Regions from separate parts of the Homo sapiens genome. Here all the other regions are linked to region 1. Evidence: promoter capture Hi-C in 16 types of primary human blood cells and fetal thymus (Javierre and others, 2016). All regions are on one chromosome and are shown on one strand. The core of a region is centred on a gene start or on the middle of the fragment in contact, and the rest is flanking DNA. Distances in the headings are between cores, read along the strand shown.

Region 1 (4,131 bases), core at 1,169-3,668:
CCTGGAGTAGATCTATCTCTTCTCTCTGCCCATCAAGGAGTCTGTGATCATTGACTTTTTCCTGGGGCCTCTCTCAAGAAGGAGGTTTTGAAGACGTGCCAGTGCAGAAGCAGACCTGCACCGGCCAGAACACCAGGTTCAAGGCGTTTGTTGCCATCAGGGACAGTGGCCACACTGATCTGGGTGTTAAGTGCTCCAAGGAGGTGGCCACTGCCATCTGCGGGGCCATCATCCTGGCCAAGCTCTCCGTTGTGCCCATGCGCAGAGGCTACTGGGGGAACAAGATCGGCAAGCCCCACACCATCCCTTGCAAGGTGACAGGCTGCCACGGCTCTGTGCTGGCGCGGGTCATCCCTGCGCCCAGGAGCACTGGCATCGTCTCGGCCCCCATGGCCAAGAAGCTGCTGCTGATGGCAGCTATCAATGACTGCTACACCTCAGCCAGGGGCTGCACTGCCATCCTGGGCAACTTCGTCATGGTCATTTTTTATGCCATCTCTAAGGTCTACAGCAGGCTGAACCCTGACCTCTGGAAGGAGACTGTATTCACCAAGTCTCCCTATCAGGAATTCACTGACCACCTCCTCAAGACCCACACCAGAGTCTCCGTGCAGAGGACCCAGGCTCCAGCGGTGGCTACAACATCGGGTTGTACAAGAAAAATAAAATGAAGTAAGCCTGGAAACAAAAAAACTACATTAATAAGAAACATAGAAAAAACACTAAAGAAGAAATGTTATAAAGTACCCATAATTCCAGGGTAACTTTTTCAAAAAACATACCTACATATTTTTAAATTGTTACAGTCATACAGTACATATTAATTACTATGCTATAATTGCATTACACATTTTCGTACATTTCTACCTAATTCAAACATTATCATGTAATGGCTAAATAACACTCAATTATATAGATGTTCTATCATTCCCATTCTGTTATGCACATGCCAAAAATCTTGTAGGGATAAAATCACTCATGGAAAGCCTTTTACCGACCTAGGAGGCATTCTGTATTATCTCTGAATGAGTCCCACATTGCAAATTTTTCCTCTAGATTTGGATCAGATTGCTAGTCCTTGAGCTGAGAATCAGATGAAACATTTGGCTTCCCTAACTTAAGGGCCATGTTTATTAGAATTAATTTTCTGAGAATGTATAGAGTGTCCATAGCTGATTCCAGTAAGTTAAATGTGTATAAGACTCCACTTTAAAAATCTTCAGGCATTTGGGGGTATGTGTGCTAAGTGAGAGATCTTAATTTTAATAACAGTGGAAACTCCAGACTGGGCACACCTGAAGGGCAAGGACTGTGAGCTCCGTATTTGTAGGGAAGTACCGAGGACAGCCTAGAATCCGTCTGTGGCTGTTAAATGCGGCATTTTGTAAAGACATGCAGGAATACCTGTGAATAAGTAGTTAATAGTACCAAAAATTATTCAGAGCACTTTGGATTGTTGAATAAGTGTAAGATTACCCCAGCCCATAGAGTATAAGAATTACATTTTCTAAGAAAGCTAACAAAATTAAACCCAAAATTTTATTAGCTAAGTTGATCACAGGGAACCTAGTTTAGTTATATTATTGGGTGGATCCCCCCACCCGCTACTCAGGAATGCCTCATGAAAGTTTAAAGGGCATAGTATACCGGCTAAACAACTTAAATCCCTATTTTTGGAAAAAAGAACTAGAAGCATGTTTAAATTTTTTAGAATGCAGGTAATTGGAGAAGATATTGAGCTTATTTTGCTGTTGCAGATTGATGCACCATTGATTCTTGATAACACGTCGACTCAAGCAAAGTAAAATCTGTAAGATTTGTAAAAGAATGACGCAAGCAGTCATATATAGGTATGAATATGCATGTTGTATATGTTTGGGGGCATTATACACAGATTTTTAAGTGATTCCTGGTATCCAGAAAGGATTAAGATTAGGAAAGTCTCTGAGCTTTTGTAGTGTCAATAAACATTTATCTCCACTGGTTTGTTTTTCTGTTTCCCTAACCGTTCGGCTTAAAACTGGCCCTCCAAAAATGAATCTGTTAGCAAGTTTATACTGATCCATCCTCGTTTTCAGATATACCATCCTCAGGTTCTACAGAGCCAGAATTGTCTCAAAGCGTACTTGATGCTTTTGACCTTGCGCTTCCCAAGATAAAAATTCTGACGGAGGGATTTGTGGACTTGATTTTCACAAGGCCTGCGAGGTGTTTACAAGCCTCGAGGGCTTTGAGTAGAAAAGGTAGGGTCATGCGCTAGCTAGGGAGATATCGGAGAGAGGAAGTGCTGCACAGGACCCAGATGATAGCGGTTTCAAATACTGGCTTAGTCTGCGGCGGGCGCAGGTCCCCTCACCCGGCACCCTGTGGTTCAGCACAGGAGGGTTCTTTCTCTCCGCGGGCACTGATTCCGGGTCGCGGCGGACGTCGCTTCCGGAGCAGCATGGCGGCCACTGAGGATGAGAGGCTAGCAGGGAGCGGTGAGGGAGAGCGGCTGGATTTCTTACGGGATCGGCACGTGCGATTTTTCCAGCGCTGCCTCCAGGTTTTGCCGGAGCGCTATTCTTCACTCGAGACAAGCAGGTAACTCGTGGCACAGTCAGCCAGGCTGGCACAAGGCCCGGGCTCCAGCGGAAAGGCGCGGCGGAGTCGGACCGCAAACTGGGCGCCGGAAGGGGGCTGCGCGGCCGCCCAGTTGGCACTGACTGGTTTCAAGTGGGCTTGAGGTTACCCCCACTCTCCCGCCGTACGGTGGGAAGGTCTGGAAGGCTGTAGGTCGAGGGCTGTGGCATCTCCAGTTTCCGGCTTTTTCACTTCCCTTTTCTTCTGGCAACTCTGAGCTGCTTTTTTACCCGCTCCCATAGCCTGTCACTTTGCCTCATTACTTCCGAGTGTAAAAGGAAAAGGACAAAGTTTGTCGTCGTATTTTTAGATGAATACTTCTGTGCATCCTTGTCCTCTCTAAAGTCATTAACTCTTAATAGAGTGTCTGTATGGTGTTTTATGTGTAGGAGCGGCAGAGAACCTCTAAGGTCTTAGAAACTTTGTGGGAACTATAAATCTAATGGTAGGCGAAAGAGGTGTGGTGTTGCGTGAAGCAGCCTGTTAAAAGTATCGCAATAGCTGAAGAGTGTGGTGCGGCAGAGACTAAGCGACTTCATTTACAGTAAAAGCTGGGGATGAGAAGAAAGAAAGGAGAAGGCAATCTTTGCTCCGCATTGCTGTGTTTTGAAGTGAAGCTCAAAAGCTGCTTGAGACTGGATGGGAGGAAAGAGCGGCTTGTTTTTGCTGTGTTCTTTCCCCACGTTTTCCAAATTCTGAGTTGCTGGTGTATTTTGAACACTGCATGACCGGATCAGTTTGGGGAGCTTTGCAGATTACTTCTGCACACTTGGTCAAGAACCACATTATGGTAGGTGCCAGAGTACAGCTGAACAAGACAAGCATTTGTATAGAGTTCTGTGCTATATGTTAGTGTAGTGTTCATAGGAGTATATAGACAGGCATGTACATAATCCAGATATCTTTAGAGAGGCCTTCCTTAAACACCCTTCCTAAAGGGACCACTTCCAATGACCACCTCACATTACGTATGTATTGGTTTATTTGTTTAATGTCTTTCTATTACACTGGATTATAAACTTCACAAAGGTAACATTTTCGTCTATCTTGTTTACCTCTATACTTAGGACTGGGCTGCCCTGTCCAATCTGGTAGCCACTAGCCACATTTGGCTATTTTGATTTGAATTAATTAAATCAAATTAAAAATTAAGTGATTCTTTTGGTAGTAGCCACCACATTTCAAGTACCCAGTTGCCATATTGGCCAGTGGCAATTGTTTCTATTTCAACATTTGCAACAGCTTAGTCCTTTTGGTCAACATTGCACTAGGACCTTAAATAGTACCTGGTATCTGAGAAGCACTAAGAAATATTTGTTGAATAATGTGAGCTGAGCCCTGAAGGATGAACAGATTCTCACAAAAGAAAGAGTGAAACGTTTATATTCCTTCCTCCTCTCATAGGTGTTGATCGATTAGCAGAGCCTATACCTTCACTGAAAGATTCAGATTTCCAAACCGAAAGGTTATGATTGTAGTGATATGAGATGTTTTAAAATGTTGATAAAT
Region 2 (4,131 bases), core at 897-3,396, 830 kb before region 1:
AGGGAAATGAGGAGATGCTGGTCAGAGGGTACAACTTTTAGCTATAAAACAAATTAAGTTCTGGGAATCTAATGTATGGCATGGTGACTATAGTTAATAATACCACGTTGTTTACTTTAAGTTTTCAAAGACAGTAGATCTTAAATGTCCTCACGCACACACTCACCCACACATAAAAGGTGGTAACTGTGTGGTGACAGATATGTTGATTAATTTGATTATGGTAATCATTACACAATGTATACAGCTATCAAATCATCACATTGCACACCCTGAATACGCATAATTTTTGTTTATCAATTATACCTCGATAAAGCTTAAAAAAGAAGTTTTTAAAATGGAATAAAAATAAACACCTTTTGATTTTTTAACATTATTTCATTGATCTTACCCTCTTTGAATTCAGAATCACAGTCTTTCCTCAGTATCTAGCGAGGGCTGGTTCCAGGACCCCCTACAGACACCCAAAACTGCAGATACTCAAGTCCCTCATATAAAATGACACAGTATTTAAATATAATCTACACATATCCTCCTTTATACTTTAAATCATCTCTAGATTATTTATAATAACTAATACAATGACAACACATCATTTCTGTGGATTTAACATAGTACTCAGCACATGGCAAATTCAAGTTTCACTTTTTGGAATTTTTTGTTTCCCAAATATTCTTGATCTGCTGCGAGTTTAATCCATGAATACGAAATCCAGGGATACAGAGGGCTGACTGTACTACCAACATGTGTTCTGCTGCAAGCACCCCACAGTTTATGTGGGTAGGACCCTAAGTTACCATAAAACAGTTAAAGTCATTGCATGTACACCTTTTTTCATCATATAAGTCAGTGTAATATATTTTTGTTACAATTTAAATGGCATGATCTGTTTTCACATCTGGCTATTTTGGCCACAGTATCCTAAACAGTTCTCAGAATGAAAAAGAAAGATAGCATTACAGCTGCCAGAGGTAGCATGATATAAAAGGAATAAGACTTAGAGACAGACAGATCCAATCCTCATTTCAGTTTCATCATGGACCACTTGGGATAATATGATAAAGTGACTAATATTTTCTAAAGTTTTATTTCCTCACTTTTAAAAGGTATGTGACATGGTTTGGATCTGTGACCACAACAAATCTCATGTGCAATTGTAATCTCCAGTGTTGGAGGTGGGCCCGGTGGGAGGTGACTGGATCATGGGGGCAGGCTTCTCATGAATGCTTTAGCACCATCCCTTCAGTGCTATTCTTGTGATAGTTGAGTTCTCGCAAGACCTGCTTGTTCAAAAGTATGTAGCCCCTCCCTCCTCCCTCTCTCTCTTGTTCCTGCTCCTGCCATGAAAGACACCTGCTCCCCATTCACCTTCCACCATGACTGTAAGTTTCCTGAGGCCTCCCCAGAAGCCAAGCAGATGCCAGCACATCATGCTTCCCGTACAGCCTGCAGAACCGTGGGCAAATTACACCTCTTTTCTTTATATAATTACCCTATTTCAGGTTATTTATAGCAATGTGAGAATGGACTAATATGAAGTACATACAAACAACTATATAAATCACCCTGCATAATGCCTGACGCAGAAAAATTCCGCAGCTAACATCTATGTGTTAGGATAGCATAATAGCTTAGGAATGTGACTATTCTTGTCAAATCCCAACTCAGCCACTTACTTAGCTGTACAATCATGGGCAACTTTTTAAACCTCTCTAAGCCTCAATTTTATAAGTACATGTATAAACTAGAACTATTAATGGGTTTTGTAACATACAAAGAACTCATTATAACATCTGACCCACAATAAGCACAATAAATGCTTGTTATCATTATATTATTTAAGCATTTCAGACTTTAAAATAGTATATTAGCAATCCTATGATATACCCAGAATTACCAAAAGATAATTTCCAGCATTCTCAATGGGACAATGTACAATTAATCAGATCATTCCAACTTCTTTATTTGCATATTTTATATGACAAATGATTAATTAATTTCTTAAAGAGAAGCTTCTGTAATCCAACTATGGGAAAAATATTACCTTTAAAAAAACAAACTTTCATCATGAAGACACTAAAAAGTAATTTACTATTAGAAGCAGAAAACAAAAATATTTTTAATTGTTATGACTACTAAAGTGCAAGGAAAAAAACGGACTGTATAAAATATAGGAAAAATATAAACAGAAAACAGGCTACTATTAAAAAGCCAAGAATTTTTTTTAAAAATGAAAATGGCTTAAAAAAAGAATTGCAGGGAAACAAATGGAAAGCTTAAAATCTATAGAGGATATAGGAAAAAGTAGACTTTAAAATGATAAAAAATGAAGCAATGACATAGAAGACACTTGAGAGTAGTAAGAATACAGAATTTTTAAAAAGGGAAGTAGAGAAGTGAAAACAATAAAGGGGCATTTTCTAACATCCTACTTAATGATAAGAGCCTGAATGCTTTCACCCTAAAATTGGGAACAAGGCAAGGATATTCAGACTTACCACTCCTATTCAGCATCACGTTGGAAGTCCTTGTCAGTAAAATAAAGCAAGAAAAATAAAAGCTCTACAGATTGAAAAGGAAGAAATAAAACTGTCTTTATTCACAGACAACGTGACTGCCTTCAAAGGAAATCACAAAAAACCTATAAGAAAGCTGCTAAAACTAATTAGTGAATTTACCAAGTTACAGGATAGAGATCAGTATAGAAAAGTCTACTGTATTTCCATATACTATCAATAAGCCATTGGAAAACAAAATTTGAAAAATACTACCAATAGTTCAACAACAAAAAAAAAAAGAAAGAAAAAGTACTTAAGGTACAAACCTAACAAAATAAGGGCAGGATTGATAAGCTGAAAACAAAAGACACTGATAAAAGAAATCAAAGAAGACCTAAATAAATAGATATACTCAATACTTATTAAGGAGTCATTTCTCAATAAAGTTATTTACAAATTAAACACAACCCCAATCAATACCCCAAGCAGGATTTTTTACAGAAATACAAAAGCTGATTTTCAAACATATGAAAAGGCAAAGAAACTAGGATTGCCAAAACAATTATAAAAAAGAAGAAAAAAGTCAGTGGGTTCACAATACCTGATTTTAACACTTACTATTAAGCTATAATAATTAAGGCAGTGTGATATTGGCATAGACAAATAAGTCAATGAAATCAAAGAGAGATTCCAGAAAAAGACTCACAAAAATATCAAATGATTTTAGACAAACACATGGTAATTCAATGACAAAATGATAATTTTAACAACAAATCACATTGGAGCAAATGAACATCCATACATAGAAAAAATGAACTTTGACCTGCACTTTATGTATCATACAAAATTAACAGTAAATGGATTTTAGATCTAAACATAAAATATAAATATGTAAAACATTTAGAAGAAAACAGTAAATATTTATGTCATGATTAGGCTGCAAATTCCTAGAAAACCAGAAGTAGGTTCATGAAAAGAGAAAAAAAAAATACAACAGATTTCATCAAAGTTAATGGTTCTGTTCTGGGAAAGATACTGTTAAGAGAATGAAAAGGAAAGCTACAGATTAGGAGAAAATACGTGCAAATCATATATCTCACAGAGGACTTCTAGAGAATATACAGATGCTCCTTGACTTACAATGGGCTTATGCCTCAATTAATCTATCGTTAAGTTAAAATACAATAATTCACAAATGTATTTAATACACTTAATCTACCAAACATCACAGCTTAGCTTAGCTAACCTTAGACATGTTCAGTATACTTACATTAGCCTGTGGTTGAGCAAAATCATCTAACACAAAGCCTATTTGTTAATCAATACATAATATTTTTGCATATTTATGAGATATGTGTTATATTTTCTTATATGCATAGACTGTGTAATGATCATGTCAGGGTATTTAAGATATTCACCACCCTGAGCATTTATCATTTGTGTGTGTTCAGAACAGTTCACTTCCTTAATTCTAGCTATTTTGAAATGACCAATATATTGATGTCAACTATAAGCACCATACTAAACTATCAAACATTAAACTTATTACTTCTGATTATATGTTTGTACCCATTAACCAACTTCTACTCATCCACCCTCCGACCCCACATCCCATGCATTCTTCTCAGCCTCT
Region 3 (4,131 bases), core at 617-3,116, 810 kb before region 1:
AATTCCAAGGATAAAGAAAAATTTATTCAAGCGACATGGTGAAAAAAGCATGTCACTTACAAGAGTAAAATAATCAACAACTTTCAGACTTCTTCATAGCAATGTCTACAAAGGGTCGAGAAAAGCGAACATGCTATTCAATATTAAAGCAAAAGTCAGATCTTACTAAGCGTGGCTGCATTCATAGTTTTCATGGGCTCTTTTTGTTAAAACTAATAGTTGAGAACAAGCCAACCAAGAGATTAATGAAAATACAGAACTCAGTAGCAGAGATGCGGTGGCATGTAGTGAACATTAAATCCATATAAAACTAAAATTTAGTTAATTTATGAAATTAAGTAGAAATGTTATAATGTTTGATAATATAGAATCATCATATAGCTTAGACAACTGATTTTTAAATGGACAAAATTGGGTGGAATAAAGTTTTAAGAGTACTTATTTCTTTATCTTTCAAAGCAAATGCTATGAATCAAACATTCTCTTAAAGAAATACAACAGTGCCCCATAAATATCTATACCTACTATGTCCCAACAAAATTTAAAAAATTAAAATGAAATACATTATTTAAAAAATAAATTGATTATAACATCTTAAAATGTTTCCATAATCTTTTTTTTTTTTTTTGAGTTGGAGTCTCACTCTGTCACCCACTGCAAGCTCCGCCTCCTGGGTTCATGCCATTCTCCTGCCTCAGCCTCCTGAGTAGCTGGGACTACAGGTGCCTGCCACCACGCCTGGCTAATTTTTTGTATTTTTAGTAGAGATGTGGTTTCACTATGTTATCCAGGATGGTCTCAATCTCCTGACCTCTTGATCTGCCCGCCTCAGCCTCCCAAAGTGCTGGGATTACAGGCATGAGCCACCATGCCAGGCCCCAAATGTTTCCATAATCTCTTTAAAACTTTGCAGAGGTGGCACTCTAGAGAACTCTAGTCTGAATATGGCTCATGGGCTATAGAAATACTGTGCTTGCTTATTTTGTTTAACCTACTCAGTGATGACATAGACAATGTAACCAGAGAGATTCTTATTTTGAAAACAATAGAAGCAACTTAATTTTTATAGTTTGCTGCATGAGTCATAAAGTCCCTATGCCTAAAGGCATTTAAGTTTGTGACCCCCATCTTAGAGGAATATTTTAGGGACAAACATCTCTTTGTTAAGGAAACAACTCTTTAATATACAGCAATTTCTATAGTTTTTTTTCTTCTCTTTTCCACTTTAATAAAATCATTTCTATATATCTGTATCACATATATTAGATATATAGCATATAGATTGAGATCTAGATATAAATATGCATACAGTGATTACTAAAATTAGGTTTGGTTAATGTCCACAATTATTTCAGGCTGGTGAGATTTTCTGTAAGTTTTTACCTTCTCTGTATTACTTGAACTTCCAATGATGAGAATTAATTATTTTTACCATCAGTTACTATTCAAAAGATCATGAAGACCAAGATAATTAGTTATGTGCCCAGGATATTTTATATTAGGTACTAACATATTTTACATGCCAAGAAAAATTCTTTGTGGGACCTAACATTAACATCATTCTTATGGTAATTTGTAAATAATATTAATTTATTATTATCAAAATATACTTAAGATTTTTGTGTGTTAAATGAAAGGTCTAAAGTAAATTATTAATATTATTGCATTTGGGAAAAAGGCAAATATATCTCTTCAGAGTAACTGCCTATTTTTTATTTACACAAGATTTTAAAAAGTTTTTTCTTTACAGTTTGCTTAGATTAGTAAATTAACAAGATGGGTACAGTTACTTTCCTTCAGGATCAGAGTCGGCGTGGCATTGCTAAAGACAAAGTGGTGCTTCTAACAAGCCAAAGAGCTCGAGAGGTTCCAATCTGCCCCTTAGAGCCATAGGTAAATACAGATTATTTGAATGACTCTACCCAGTCTCCTCATTGTTCCAGCATGCCATGCCCATTCTCAGTTGTGTCTAGTTTTGTAGTCTCTTCTTTGTAATATACTCTCCCCACAGTTCCTACATCTCCAGAAGGGAATATGTAGAGGTATTTGAGTTGTTCCAATGCCTTACAAATGTTACTGATACATAGCAGGAATCACAGTCTCACACAATGATGAATTATCCACCCAAGGTGCCAATAGCATCTGTGTGGAGAAACCAAACCTTCAAGACTTCAAGATCCAACTCAGTTCACACTTTCTAAAATGTACACCACCTACTCACCTTCTTCTCTGGACTTTGAGAGGGTTTCTTATATGAAGCAAACATTTTAGCAAGGAATTCTATATGATTGCCTTTCTTCATTAGCCAACTGTTGTAAAGGCATAGATCCATCCTTAGACTTCTTTAGAGACCTCATCATACCCAGTATCATATGGGTGCCTGGGATAGATAAAATAAAACTATTTCAAACCCTTTTACAGTGAAGATTTAAGCTCTTGGTTGGACAGCCAATTTAGTTAAATGGTATGTCTAAGGATGCAGAAATCTGTGAACACTACATTCAAAGAGAAATAGTGTTTCCCTAAACACATAACTTTATTTGATTCCTTGATTTATTCTACTTTGAAGTTAGTAAGTTTTATTGAGATCTTGAAAAATGAGTTGAAATACTGTATTTTCATAGCTGTCTTTCCAGAATTCAAGACGCTTCACAATACTTTCATGTTTCGACAAACTAATGGTAAAATACTGTGTTTCAAATGTGTGTATAAAATTTTTTTTGATTCCTTCATGACTTTTCCTTATTTTTGTATGGCAGAATTTGTTCATCAAGGTCAACTTGGTAAATATATAATTGTGGAACATTTGATTTGAGGTTTAACTTTAGTGTGAAAGCCTATTAACTCAATCACACCTAGTGCCCTAATCTTGGTTTCTAATATTCTCCAATAAAAAGAACCTGGACTTGTTGGAGAAATGGCTGATTCTAGGACTGGGGCAGTAAGTACAAAATGAGCCTGGGACACCTTGTAGTGCAGGGAGTAAGGAAGTGCTAAAAATTTAAAATAAAATTTTAAAACTCACAATGATTCAGATATGTTAAAGGACCATAGAACGCAACTGAAAAAAACTCCTAATAGCTTAAAACCAAATGATAAAATGAATATCCACAAGTCCATACTGATCTAAACAAATAATTTAATAAATTATTCCATTATTTAAATAATTGAATAATTATTGAGTAAATAGAAGGGAGAGAAGACAAAATTTCCTGCGTAAAATTACAAATAATTTATATAAATACCCATCCCTGAAGAGAGGGAAGCATAACTCTCTACTCCTTAATTATAGGCTACACATAGTGACTTCTTTCCAAAGAGTGCAGTTTGTAAGGGTGGTAGGGGTAGAGTCACTTTACAGTGAAGAATCCTGACAAACACCACCTCAACCAGATGATCAAGGCCAACATTATCAGTGATGAATCATGTTGCTAGTAAGTACTCTTGGTATGGTGTCATGAAAATGGCAATTGGTCTTTGTGTCTTCTTCCAGAAACCCATAACTCTGGTTTCATTATGAGAAAAATGTCAGACAAATTCCAAGGGGACATTCTACAAAATACTTGACTAGGACTCCTCAAAACTGTCAAGGTCATCAAAAACAAGAAAAGCCCAAGAAACTATCACAGTCCAGAAGAGCCTAAAGAGACACGATGACTAAATGTAATGTGGTATTTTCAGTGGGATCCTGGAACACAAAAAGGACACTGGGCAATAAGTAAGAAATATGGATAAAGCATGGACTTTGGTTAACAATAATTTCTTATTATTGGTTCCTTCATTTTAACAAATATGCCGTACTCATTTGTCAGTAATACGGGAAATTGGGTGTGGAGTATATGGCCACTTTTACAGTCTTCACAATTTTTCTGTTTCTAAAACAGTTGTAGAAGATAAAGTTTATTTATTTTAAACCTATTAACTATTTTCAACTTTTTGAATTATGAAAGGAGTACTACTGTCAAAATGACACTTACAAAACTTAGAAATATTATCACCGTTACACTTTCCATAGCAGCACAAATCCGTCACAGGCACCATTGTGAATGCTATGCGGTGCCACCCAAAGCCTCCCTTTGAGGGAAGGATGTATTCTCACAGCTGCAGTGAAGGGTGCTGACTGACACTGCT

Evidence for each region. Contacts are between HindIII fragments. The CHiCAGO score rates a contact against its expected background, and 5 or more counts as called.
Region 2: a fragment that was not itself captured here is called in contact with the fragment with the promoter of PGGT1B in region 1 in 1 of 17 cell types (non-activated CD4 T cells); the score reaches 5.1 in non-activated CD4 T cells.
Region 3: a fragment that was not itself captured here is called in contact with the fragment with the promoter of PGGT1B in region 1 in 5 of 17 cell types (non-activated CD4 T cells, monocytes, naive CD8 T cells and 2 more); the score reaches 5.4 in non-activated CD4 T cells.

What each region holds. Positions count from the first base shown.
Region 1 is chr5:115,261,164-115,265,294 of GRCh38, reverse strand. PGGT1B (protein geranylgeranyltransferase type I subunit beta) reads left to right here and starts at 2,418. Exons shown (of 9, transcript NM_005023.4): 1 at 2,418-2,583. The coding sequence starts at 2,444. It also overlaps the pseudogene RPS2P26. RefSeq lists enhancers at 2,300-2,349, 2,380-2,559. The HindIII fragment of the contact is 10,345 bases long and covers 1-4,131 here.
Region 2 is chr5:116,095,002-116,099,132 of GRCh38, reverse strand. The region is part of intron 4 of COMMD10 (COMM domain containing 10); the gene reads right to left. Among named protein-coding and RNA genes, the nearest start is that of COMMD10, 12 kb to the right of the region's middle. The HindIII fragment of the contact is 263 bases long and covers 2,015-2,277 here.
Region 3 is chr5:116,070,873-116,075,003 of GRCh38, reverse strand. No RefSeq gene overlaps it. Among named protein-coding and RNA genes, the nearest start is that of COMMD10, 12 kb to the left of the region's middle. The HindIII fragment of the contact is 6,657 bases long and covers 1-4,131 here.